2 separate regions of the Homo sapiens genome follow, and region 1 is linked to region 2. The links are contacts of gene promoters, found by promoter capture Hi-C in blood cells and fetal thymus (Javierre and others, 2016). All regions are on one chromosome and are shown on one strand. The core of a region is centred on a gene start or on the middle of the fragment in contact, and the rest is flanking DNA. Distances in the headings are between cores, read along the strand shown.

Region 1 (6,020 bases), core at 2,373-4,872, 1.3 Mb after region 2:
AGTATCACCGTAATACCAAAAGCAGGAAAAGACACAACAAAAAAAGGAAAACTACAGACCAATATCCCTAATGAACACAGAAGCAAAAATCCTCAACAAAATACTAGCTAACTGAATCCAACAGCATACCAAAAAGATAATCCACCATGATCAAGTAGGTTTCATACCAGGAATGCAGGGATAGTTTAACATCTGCAAGTCAATAAATGTGATATATCACATAAACAGAATTAAAAACAAAAATCACATGATCATCTCAATAGACTCAGAAAAAGCATTTGACAAAATTCAGCATCCCTCTATGATTAAAACCCTCCTCAAAATTGGCATAGAAGGGACATACCTTAAAGTAATGAAAGCTAACTATGACAAACCCACAGCCAACATTATACATATATGTGTATATACATACATATACACATACATGCACACCACATTTTCTTTGAAAATGCACATCAAAAGCACAATGCAATACCACCTTACTCCTGCAAGAATGGCCACAATCAAAAAATAACAGATGTTGGAGTGGATGTGGAGTGGACATATACACCACATTTTCTTTATCCACTCATTGATTGGCATTTGGGCTGGTTCCATATTTTTGCGAATTGTGATGTTATAAACATGCGTGGTCAAGTATCTTTTTCGTATAATTATTTCTTTTCCTCTGGGTAGATACCAAATAGTGGGATTGCTGGATCAAATGGTAGTTCTACTTTTAGTTTTTAAAGGAATCTCCACATTGTTTTGCACAGTGGTTGTACTAGCTTACATTCCCACTAACAGTGTAAAGTGTGTGTGTATATATATATACACACACATATACACACCATGGAATACTACTCAGTCATAAAAAAGAACGAAATAATGGCATTCGCAGCAACCTGGATGGAACTGGAGACCACTATTCTCGGATGGAATTGGAGGCCAGGATTCTAAGTGTAGTAACTCAGGAATGGAAAACTGACATCATTTGTTCTCACTCATAAGTGGGATCTAAGCTATGAGGATGCAAAGGCATTAGAGTGATACAATGAACTTTGGGGACTCAGGAGAAAGGGCAGGAGGGGAGTGAGGGATAAAAGACTACACATTGGGTACAGTGTACACTACTTGGGTAATGGGTGCACCAAAATCTCAGAAACCACCCCTAAAGAACTTATGTAACCAACCACCTGTTCTCCAAAAGCCTATTGAAATAAAAAATAAAATAAAATAAGCCTTAGGGGAGAAAACTGTTAACCTAGTTGCTTTTTAGAATATAAAGTCTAAGATTATCTTTAATTATAAATATAATAAACCAGTTATGATAAAGACATAAAATTAAGGGCAATCACAGAGCAAATGTGTGTGTATATAAAAGAGAGAGAGAACATTCTATGTGGGTTCTATTTTTATATATTCAGTTTCTTGGCATCATAAGATTGTGTACATGTCTAGTTTACCTTACTATGAGAGCAAGATCTTGATATTCTCTTTTTTAACTGTAAATAAGTTATTGCCATGACTTTTGTAGGTGATTTTTCAGCTTAGTGACTATAATTACTGTAAAGCTTGATTTCCTTCTTGTTATAATAAACTGCATTAGTTTGAAATAAATAAATAAAAACACATGGAATATTATTCAGCCTTATAAAAGGAATCTTCACTTGAGCCCAGTTTGAGACCAGCCTGAGCAACACACTGAGGCCCTGTCTCTACCAAAAATACAAAAGTTAGCCAAGTGTGGTGGCACCTGCCTGTAGTCCCAGCTACTCAGGAAGCTGAGGCAGGAGGATCTCTTGTGCCCAAGAGTTCAAGGCTGCAGTGAGCTGTGACTGGGCCACTGCACTCCAGCCTGGGCAACAGAGCAAGAGCCTATGTCTCTAAAAAAAAAAAAAAAAAAAAAAAAAATTAAAAAATTAAAAAGGAATCTTGACACATGCTACAACATGGATGAACCTTGAGGACACTGTACTATGTGAAATAAACCAGTCATAGAAAGACAAATACTTACGATTCCATTTATATGAGGTACCTAGAGTAGTCAAAGTCATGAAGAAAAAGTAGAAGGATGGTTGCAAGGGACCGGGGAAAGGGGAAAATGGGAGTTGTTTAATGGGTATAGAATTTCAATTTTGAAAGATGAAAATGTTTTGAAGATTGGTTGCACAATAATGTGAATATACTTAACACTACCAAAATAGTTAACACTTAGAAATAGTTAAGATGGTAAATTTTATGTTTTTTTAACTACAATTTAAAAGACAAAAGATAACTTGGTTAAGGATTAACAAAATCCTCTTTGATGTGAGAATTTAACTTCTGGTTACTTTTTTTGGTTCTTTTCTTCTAGAAACCAGATAACAGAGGTATGTCAACTACATTCCTAGGCAATATAACTTATGGAAAAAACAACTTCTGATTGGTAAACTAAATCTGAATTGCGAAGAACTATAAATGAATTATATATATAAGTACCTTATGGAGATACCGAACTCTGGGCTTCCCTGTGTATGGCATGTACCTTAGGTGACACCTGGAAGCTATGCCTATGAAGTTATAACAAGAGACATTCATTCCTATGGGGCATGAATCTTCTAAGCTAGGGTGGCTCCTATGAATCTTGTCACCTTGCATCTAATCCATTACTCTGGAGCAGCCAAAGAAGATAGCTCCCAGATAGCTACGGGGACTGCTATAAGGACTCTACTAGAAAGAAACACCTAATGCTGGTCTGTTGGTAAGCTGTGGTTCCTGTCCTGTAGCATTCTGAGTAGACGAGTGTCCAGTGGGGCCTATGATAGTCTTACAAGTCTGAATATTTAGTTGAATCTAAGAAGACCCTTTGGTGGGTATTGCAACTATCTTATCTTTAAATTGTGGATTAGACATCAGTAGCTCTATGCCATATTCAAGGTGTGTAAGTTGACTTGTTAACCAAAATATTTTCCAATGATGCTTTTGCTAATGGGGGGGTGGGAAGAGGAGGAATCCATTCTAACCTCCCAGTGATCTTGTATATCCGGAATAGTACAATATTCTTTCTGTGGTGGTAGTTTTGCCTGCATCAATATGAGCCATAATTCCAATATTACGGATTCTGTTTAAAAGGAAAAAATAAGGTAAACTTTACTAAAATTGTAAAACCAAAGTATATATGCTATCCAAATTTCAAAGCTGGTATTTCTATAATTTATAAAACTGTGTAAAAACTAGAAAAATGGAAAACATTTAGAGTATATCCACATTACTCTGATAAGATAGCTAAGTAACAAAAGGGCTAACTACAACCTACAATTTTGAGACTATCTTATATTCATTCTAGAAAAGTGTGCTGTTGTTACATTAAAAATTTTTAGCATTAATTGAGAAAAAATAGCTAAGATACATTATCAACATCTACTTAAAATTGGCTAGGGCAGAAAGTCATAGAAATTACAGCATTCACTCTTGTCCATCAGAAAAAACCTGTAAATTTTCGTGACAGTCTATGGAAAAGCATGATATAATGATAGTACTTACTTAGCTATGGGAGGATTGATGATGGAATGAAGGGATTTGATATCATTTCCTATTAAGCCTAATGAAAAGAAAGTTAAAATTGAACTGTTACATTTATGAAATTTTCCTTTAATTTATAAATGAAAGACTTTAAAATAACTTTAAGCAAATACTGTAAGTCCAAATAAAGTAAAATTCAAGCTAAATAAATCTAAAATAAACTAAAATTTATTTCCTTGCAATGTATAAGGAAAGCTATGGATGACAATAAAACAAGGTAAAAGTTTTAAACATCAAGTTCTAGATCATATCCTCAGAAAAATACAGATTCACCCCAATCTCTGCCACCTACTTCACTTCCATTTACAAAATTGTAGAACTAGAATAAATGCTCATAATAATAATCTTAAGGCAATGATCCTGAATCAAAGAAAAAATTTTAAATGCACAGTCCTATAAACCTGCCTTTTCCAGGGTTTGAAGAGCTAAGAGTGATCCTCATGTCAGCTGATAATGAATTATTATACAATTTGGAACTTGCCTTCCTCAGCAATCCCAGGACACAATACCTTTAAAGACTGCCTGGGAGGTTTCACTGAATAGAAGCTATAACAATTTAATACTTTTGAAAGGCCAAGCAGTATTTCTTAAATAAAAAAGTCCATATGGCTTATTCTATGCTTAATATATAGTTTACTAATATTAAGAAGTAATTTCTAAAGAAACAAGGCAGTTACATTTGTAAATTTAATTAAAGCCTTCCTGTTATTTAAACCATTTCTCCCATGTTTCTATAATACAAAAAGGAGAATTTTATATTATTTTTGAAACTTCATGGTGGTTTGAAGATCAAAAGATAATCTATACTACTACAGTTAAATTCATATTAGCCAAATTCAGAGACCTAGATACACACCAATAACGTAGCCCATTAAATTAATCTGCCCTTGTAAGTCAACAGCCAATCAGTATTTTTATTCTATTATTCTCACATGACAAACACAGTAATGAGAACAGCAACAGAATTAAACTAGTTTCATAGAGTCTACCATACACTTGCTTGTTTCAAACACAGAAAGGACATTCAAAAGTAAGTCAACTCCTCCACCTTCCAGCTTCTGATGCCATGTATCTAACCTAAACAATCCCAAATACTTAGCCAAACTACTTATAACAATCCTCAAAATAAATTATTCTAGTAAATCTCTCTTGACAGAAAACACTTGCATAAAAAACAGAAATAAACTAGAAAAAGAAATTCACAAGAGCACTCTACAATTACACTCACATGTTAAACTTGCAAACTAGCTACTAAAGCCACCAACCTTTCCTTTGCTCAGTTCATCAGCGTGTTCCTCAGATAAGGAGCACAACTCTACTAGTATTTCCTTCTGGCACCTATCTGAACACTCCCGCCCCTAATAATCTCAAGGAAATAGCCAAGAAGTAAAAAATGGTTACAGAGCCCTAATAAGGGAGATTCTTGCAAACAAGAGAGAGAAAAGAGATAAAGCAAACAGCTTAGATAAAATTAGAAGACTCTAACATTTGTACCTGGTAGAGAACTGCAATTTCTTCCAAGCGGCACATGTGGCTTTAATCTTTTTAAACTTGCTCTTATTTTATAGCAGCATATATTCTAGTAAAGAGAAAAAGAAACTTGGCATTAATTTTATTTTAGCATCACTTATTACAGTGTTAATATTGTAATTACGCTTTGTCAGAAGATAAAATATTTTGTATAGCTTTAAAGTAGTCCTAATTTATTAACTCCAATTCTTTTAAAAAGTGACAATCCAAATATATCCTAGGGGAAAGAATAAGGATAAAATTAATACTGATTTGCTATTTTGAGCTGACCTTAAAACAATGGTTTTCCTCAACCTGCAGCATTAGCATGGGCTGAGGGCTTGTTTGAAAAACATGCTTAGGCTCCAATCCAGACAAGAGAATCAGAAACTCTTGGGGATGGAGCCAAACAATCTGTTTAAACTAGCTCTCCAGTTGATTCTAATAGCTACAGATTGAGAACCACAACCCTAAAGTTCTGAAAGTCAGAAGCTGAGTCAGAAAGGTTAAATAAGGTATCTCACCCAGGATACACCTTGGTTTTCCTCTACATCTGCTGAAAGGTCTGTAGGGGGCAATGAACTCTAAAACCATTAGTTGTTTTCAGGATTTATTACAGTTACACATTAGAATCATCTGGAAAGCTTCTTGAAGACACGGGGGTGGGGAGAGAAAATGAGAACTGGAGGAACTGGGCAGTGGCATTTAAAAAAAATTCCCAGGGTGTCTCCAATGTAGCATTCAACTGAGAATCACTGAGTTAGAGCAGGTCTGCTTAAGGCCAAGCCTACCTCCTCTACCTTAGCTGCTTACCTAACCTTCTCATGTTCTCATGTAAAGGCTGAATATTCTCCACCTCAGTTTATGCCCAGACCACTAGATATACATTTAATAGCTGCCAATGTAGTTGGAATTGTTAGTGTATGTAATGATTTAGGGCCACCACAATCTGCTTTTTGTTTCATGAA
Region 2 (6,191 bases), core at 1,899-4,398:
TTCCTTTGAGCATGATGCTTGTGTTCAAAAAGCTTGGGATTTTGGAGCATTTGGGATTTAAAATTTTTGGATTAGGGATACTAAATCTGTATTATCTTAGGACTCACTTCTGACAGCCCAGGCTAAAGCCCACTCCTCCAGTCCTTCAAACTTTGTAAAGCACCAATTCCCTATATTAAATCCCTGTGTATTAAAAATAGCCAGATTTCCTACAAGTGAATGCAGAGGCATACAATTAGAAAATATATAAGTTTCCCAAATCGATCTATACAACCAATCCTAATCAAAATTTCAAAATGAAACAAAACCTAAAATGTACATAGAATATCTGCAAATCTGTCAGTCTCAAAAGTGAAAAAGGGAAATAGCCCTACCACCTATTAAGAATATTGAGTTGGCCAGGTATGGTGGCTCATGCCTGCAATCCCAGGCAGATCGCTTGAGGTCAGGAGTTTGAGACCAGCCTGGCCAACATGGTGAAACATGTAATAAAAAATACAAAAATTAGCTGGGTGTGGTGGTGGGCACCTGTAATCCCAGCTACTCAGGACACTGAGGCATGAGAATCGCTTGAACCCGGGAGGTGGAGGTTGCAGTGAGCCGAGTGCTCTGCACTCCAGCCTGGGCAACAGGATGAGACTAAAAAAAAAAAAAAAGAAGAAAAAAGAAAGAAAGAAATAAGCATTATATAAAGTGGATATTTTGGCTTTTGCTGAAGCTGACTCAAATCCAGCTGAGAGATGAAAACAATTCATGGACTTTGATTAGGCTATAAACTAGAAACCAAGGAGGGCAAACAGGGTTCACCTTTCTTGCCTTCTCTATTGACAGATACAATCTTGAGTGCTGAGTAAATGATTCTTAGGCTCCTTGAAGCCCAGCAGGAAAGCGTGGGAGCCAATTACCCACATTTGCCATAGACATTGGGAGCATACTGGAAATGGCTCCCACATTAGCACAAGTTACTCTTTTGGCATCCTTGAGCTAAGATTGCAATGTAATAACTTTTTTTGAAACAAAAAAATCCCATATTTTTGAAAAGTCTAGTATATAATTATTTTATTAGAAGAATCAGAATTTCCTGACTACTCATAAAACCAGCAGAAGCAGCTGGAGTCAAAAATCAAAATTTTGGCCAGGTATCGTGGCTCATGCCTGTACTACCAGCACTTTGGGAGGCCCAGATGGGAGGATGGCTTGATCCCAGGAGTTTGAGACCAGCCTGGGCAACATAGCAAGACCTCCATCTCTAAATAGAAAAGCACAAAAACCAAACCAAAACAGAACGTAAAAAGAAAATCAAAATTTTCTTTTTTACTATTAAGTAATCTTTTATATTTTCAACACGCAGCAAACTTTTAAATTCATGAAAGAACAGGAGAAAAAAGTAGGAACGAGGGGAAAATTAAAAAGTCATAAGCCAGGGAAAGTGGTGCACACCTGTAGTTTCAGCTTCTCAAGTGGCTGAGACTGAAGGATCCTTTGAGCGCAGGAGTTTGAGCCCAGCCTAAGCAACAAAGTGAGACCCCATCTCTTTTAATTTTTTTAAAGTTTTATATTTTTTAAAAAAATTATAAAAATAAAATTAGCAGCATCCCTGGTTTCAAAAAGTAGAAATAAATAAATAAATAAAAGTAGCTCACAATATTTCCTGAAAACAGGTGTATTAAAAGGGCAGAGGAGAGGGAAGGCAAAGAAAAAGAAAAAAAAGGTGGCAGGTTACATACATACAATCTTGTCTCTATAAAAGCTCAGAAAACATCACGTGACTAGGAAGTTTCAAATGCCTCCAATATAACATGGAGGAGAGGAAAAAAACTGTTCCTGGACAAAGATACACATTTCTTCCAAAAGGGGGAGTCTTTCTATATATTTTGTAATATCTCCAGAGCACAGCATAATGTTGGTACTGCCATTTTGGCCTTTGTCATTAGGAAGGTAACCCACATAAGCCTAACTACAAACACCCTTACCTGTACTAAAACTTCACTCATATTTAACTGAAGCAACATTGTTTTTTGTAAATATAACTGTAACAATTATTCTAAAAGGCAATACAGCTGTCCTCACCAGTTATGTTCTTGAGACATCAGTTGCAACAAACTTATATGTAAAAAGTATTCAAAAAGTTTAAACATTGATCTTAACTGGAGAGGGGTCTGCACTTGAACAAGTTTTCTTGCTACACACATTGCATTCTAAGATTTCGGACTCACTTTTGAATATGCAAAGACATTTCATGGTTAAGACCACAAAAAGGCTGATCAGAGAACATTTTTATTTAAATTGCCATTTTAAATATCAGTCGTTTTATCTTAAAGCTTGTCCTGGGTTTAACAAAGTTTAACTCACATCCACGCGTTGTCTCTCCAAACACAGCAGGCAGAAATTCTCCTTTGATTGGATTAAGATAGATAAAGTCTGCTTAACCGTGAATCGCTAATTGTCAAATCCATGCCAATTCGGTACCTAGGAGTCAATTTTTTTGCCTGATAAACAAGATAATTGTGTGGACCGTTTTAAGGTGGTTAGTCATCTGCTAAATTGGCTGAAATGCGGATTACCCAGTTCCTTCGTCGTACAGAGTTGCATTCTGAGGAGTGGGGCTCGGGGATACAGCCCCCAGAAATTCTGAACCTCGGTCCCGCAATCTACCACACCACCTAACCTTGGAAGGCCAAACTAACTTCACTATTTTTGACAAAATGCTTTGGTAATGGCTCATTCGGGCCGAGAGGGAAATTCTGCAATTCTCCAACCCACACCTCCAGCAAGGGGAGAGCTGCTTGAGTGGTGAGCACAAGCTGGGCACCTCCGGCGTCTCCAGGAAACGTGAATAGGCCCTTTCTTCGGAGGGCACAGAACTTCAGGATCAGGGCCCAATGGAGACTGAGCGGACTTAACCCTAACTGTGCACAGGACCGCGCTCTCCGACCCCTTTGTGGCCTCTCCCAGAGGTACGGGCTGCGCCCCAAGCCAGCAGTCTCTCGTAGGGCCTACAGCCGGCAGCCGCTGGAGCAGGAGGAGGAGAATAGGGACTCGCTGGACCATCACAAACGCTGTCGCGCGTGCGCAGGGAGGAACCGAGTTCGCGGCGAAGTCAGTTTCCTGACTCTTGAAGGAAGTGGCCTTGTGTCACTTCCGGCCTCCCTTTAGCTGCCATCTTGCGTCCCCGCGTGTGTGCGCCTAATCTCAGGTGGTCCACCCGAGACCCCTTGAGCACCAACCCTAGTCCCCCGCGCGGCCCCTTATTCGCTCCGACAAGGTACAAAAAGGCTCTGGACGGCGGCGTGGTAGGAGGACGGGAGCGGGGGCGGGAAGTTCCCTGAAGGAGCGAGACAGGGAGGGACAGGGCAGAGGAGGAGAGGAAGGCGATGCGACGGACAGGCGCACCCGCTCAGGCTGACTCTCGGGGGCGAGGTCGAGCCAGGGGCGGCTGCCCTGGGGGCGAGGCGACGCTGTCTCAACCTCCACCTCGCGGCGGAACCCGAGGACAGGAGCCTCAGGTACCGCGAGGCTTGCGGAGAGTGGCCGGGCCGGGCAGGCCCTGGCTAGGCCGAGGCCAGGCCAGGGCCAGGGGTGGGGGGTGCTGGCCAGGCGTGGGGTAGAGCCTTTCATCCGGGCCTGCCAAGAGCGGGGAGCTGTGGGGGAGTGGTGGGGAGGCGGGTGCTCTTTGGGCTCCCTGGAAACCCAAATTTGGAGCTTTGCGGGGTGGATTTGGGATCCAGGTTTCGGCCTGTGTAGGACGTTTATTTTCCTGCTGGTATCTTGGGAAATAACGAGCATGGAATGCTAGAGTGAGCTAAACCTATCCTTGCTGAGGATTTCCTCTTTTTCTAGATGAAAGAAACAATCATGAACCAGGAAAAACTCGCCAAACTGCAGGCACAAGTGCGCATTGGTGGGAAAGTAAGTTTTAATAGTTCGGGTTTGTGGGTTTTTTTTTTAAGGTTTAGGTATTTTAAAAAACATATTCCTTTTGCGCTTCTTATATTATCGGTGACAAACTTTGCCTATCGAGGGAAATTCACGGAGCTAGCAAATCTCGAGGAGCGGGGGAGACGAGGGTTGGAGACACATCAGTGAGACGAGCTAAAAACATCGCCTTTGTGTAAACATGTTTGTGTTTTCAGTGTTACAGAGTGTAAGTAGAACACAAAAGTGTTTCCTAATTTAATTAGTAAGGAAAATGTGTCATTTCAGTTAGATCGTTGTGCACATCATACCCTTGACTTGTTTTGGCCTGAGTTTTCTAAAGTCAGTGCTTGTTTGTCTCTCTTGTAAATTGAGACCTTTCTGTACTGCTTTCTGAACTAAATATTCTTTAGGGTAGTTGCATATTTCAAGGGTATTTGAAGATACGGGTACATTTTGGAGTTTAAGAGCAGTGACTATTAGATTTGAAAATATAACCCAAGTAGGTATCTTTCCTGTTCTGACTTTGTATTACTGTAAAAATGAGGGAATTAAAGTGACTGATTTTTAAATGATCAGTTTTTGATTAATTGTTTTTTTCCTGGTGGATACTGATTCACATCAAGGGGATTCTTTTTTGAAGCTGATTTTTAGATTGTCCTGTAATTAATAAGAAGTCCACTGTAGACAGAGGTCTACCTAGTTTGTATTGTTAGCACATTCTTAGTATTTAACAAGGTGTGGTAGCTTGTTGAAACAGAGCATGTCTTTACTTGGTAAAACTTGTAAAGCTTCCATGGTACATGTTTATTACCTTTTAGTTTTTCCCAACTTTAAGCGTTTAACTTAGAGTTAGCTGTGAGATAGCCAGAAGTTGCACTTAGACTTAAATAATAATATACAGCTTTGTTAAATTACTGAACTTTGCCAGCGGTGAATTTATCCTGATTTTTTTTTACTTTTTATTTTTGTTAACGTTAGCCATCTTCAGGATCCACACCCACACATTTAACAACATTAGATGTTTCTTGTCCTCTTTAATCAATTGTTATCAGACTGTGGCCTTCAAGTGCCAGCAAAACTCAAATTTTTTGTGTCTCAGTGTTTGGATGCTCTTATATTGGTGTTTTTAACCACTCTTACTTTCAGTACAGTTTCAGAAGGAGTAATTTGAATAATGTGCTTATGTGCAGTCTTTTTGTTGTTACTCTCATCATTAGGCTTTAACTTTGGGAGACATCATTTTAGGGTAAAGGAAATCTTGAGATTTGCTAGGATATTTAAAGCTGATAACAAGATTAAATTTTGTGTCCTAACATCTTAATACTCGTTTAGCTAATAATACAAGAAGTATTTCTGTAGTCACAATATGGAAACATTTCTACACTGTTTAAGAAACGTACTTATTATGGGATGTGAAATTAGGTGAGTTAATTTTGCTTTAGAGAAAACTGCAGGTGTTAGGTGCTCTTAGGTAAATGTTACAAAAGCCCTTTATTTTCATATCTAATCACAGCATTAATAATAATTATTTAAGTGAAAATTGAACTCTACATATGTGAAGTGTATGAAACCTCTAGAAAGTATGCTGGGTTTGTCTTTACAATCTTAGAAATTCCTTTGAGTTTCTTAGAGAAGATTTCTTTGGAAACCAGATACATACATGACCATTTCAAAGTGATTTTTGTACTTAATAGTTTGGAGAGGTTAGTAACCAGTACTTTTTTTTTTTTTTTGTAGCCATAGATATTTTCTTCAGTTAAATAACAAGATTTATTTAAGCCTTTACTATGTTGGATCCTGAGAATATAAAATTTTAAGAAGTTTAAAGTCCCTAGGTGGGCTTTAAGCCTAGCAGTGGCGATAATTGTCTTTTCTTAAAAAAATCTTCTTTCACAGTGTAATATACATAGTACAATAGTAGAAGCATTTTCAAAATCTAGAGATGGGAATGATTTGGCATAGGGAAAGGGGGTAATTGCAGAATTTAGGAAAGGCAAACAGGAGGTAATGACTTGAATAAGATTTTAAAGGATGAATAGGAATAGGGATGGAGGTTGGGGGACGGTGAGGTGGTTGGGTGTGATAGACTTTCCTTGAGTGCCTTCAGTGAGCTAGATACTGTTGTAGATACTGGGTTTATAGCAATAAACAGAAGTCCTTATGGAGCTTACATTCTAGGGAGAGGAGATGGATGATAAAATGTATTTATCTCTTATAGTAATAAGTGTTATGAAGAGAAATAAACCAGGATAGAAAGAAATTGATGAGTGAGT

What was found. The method cuts DNA at HindIII sites, captures the fragments that hold promoters and counts their contacts. A CHiCAGO score of 5 or more calls a contact.
Region 1: a contact is called between a fragment that was not itself captured here and the fragment with the promoter of BTF3 in region 2, in 1 of 17 cell types (activated CD4 T cells). The highest score is 5.2, in activated CD4 T cells.

What each region holds. Positions count from the first base shown.
Region 1 is chr5:74,755,865-74,761,884 of GRCh38, forward strand. It overlaps GFM2 (GTP dependent ribosome recycling factor mitochondrial 2), which reads right to left. Exons shown (of 21, transcript NM_032380.5): 3 at 5,038-5,122; 4 at 3,505-3,562; 5 at 2,985-3,082. Among named protein-coding and RNA genes, the nearest start is that of GFM2, 8.2 kb to the right of the region's middle. The HindIII fragment of the contact is 4,143 bases long and covers 1,552-5,694 here.
Region 2 is chr5:73,495,294-73,501,484 of GRCh38, forward strand. It overlaps BTF3 (basic transcription factor 3), which reads left to right and starts at 3,149. Exons shown (of 6, transcript NM_001037637.2): 1 at 3,149-3,506; 2 at 3,841-3,909. The coding sequence starts at 3,375. It overlaps BTF3-DT (BTF3 divergent transcript), which reads right to left and starts at 3,027. Exons shown (of 1, transcript NR_186388.1): 1 at 2,260-3,027. RefSeq lists enhancers at 2,984-3,043, 3,074-3,373, 3,137-3,947 and a silencer at 3,584-3,633. The HindIII fragment of the contact is 2,385 bases long and covers 2,320-4,704 here.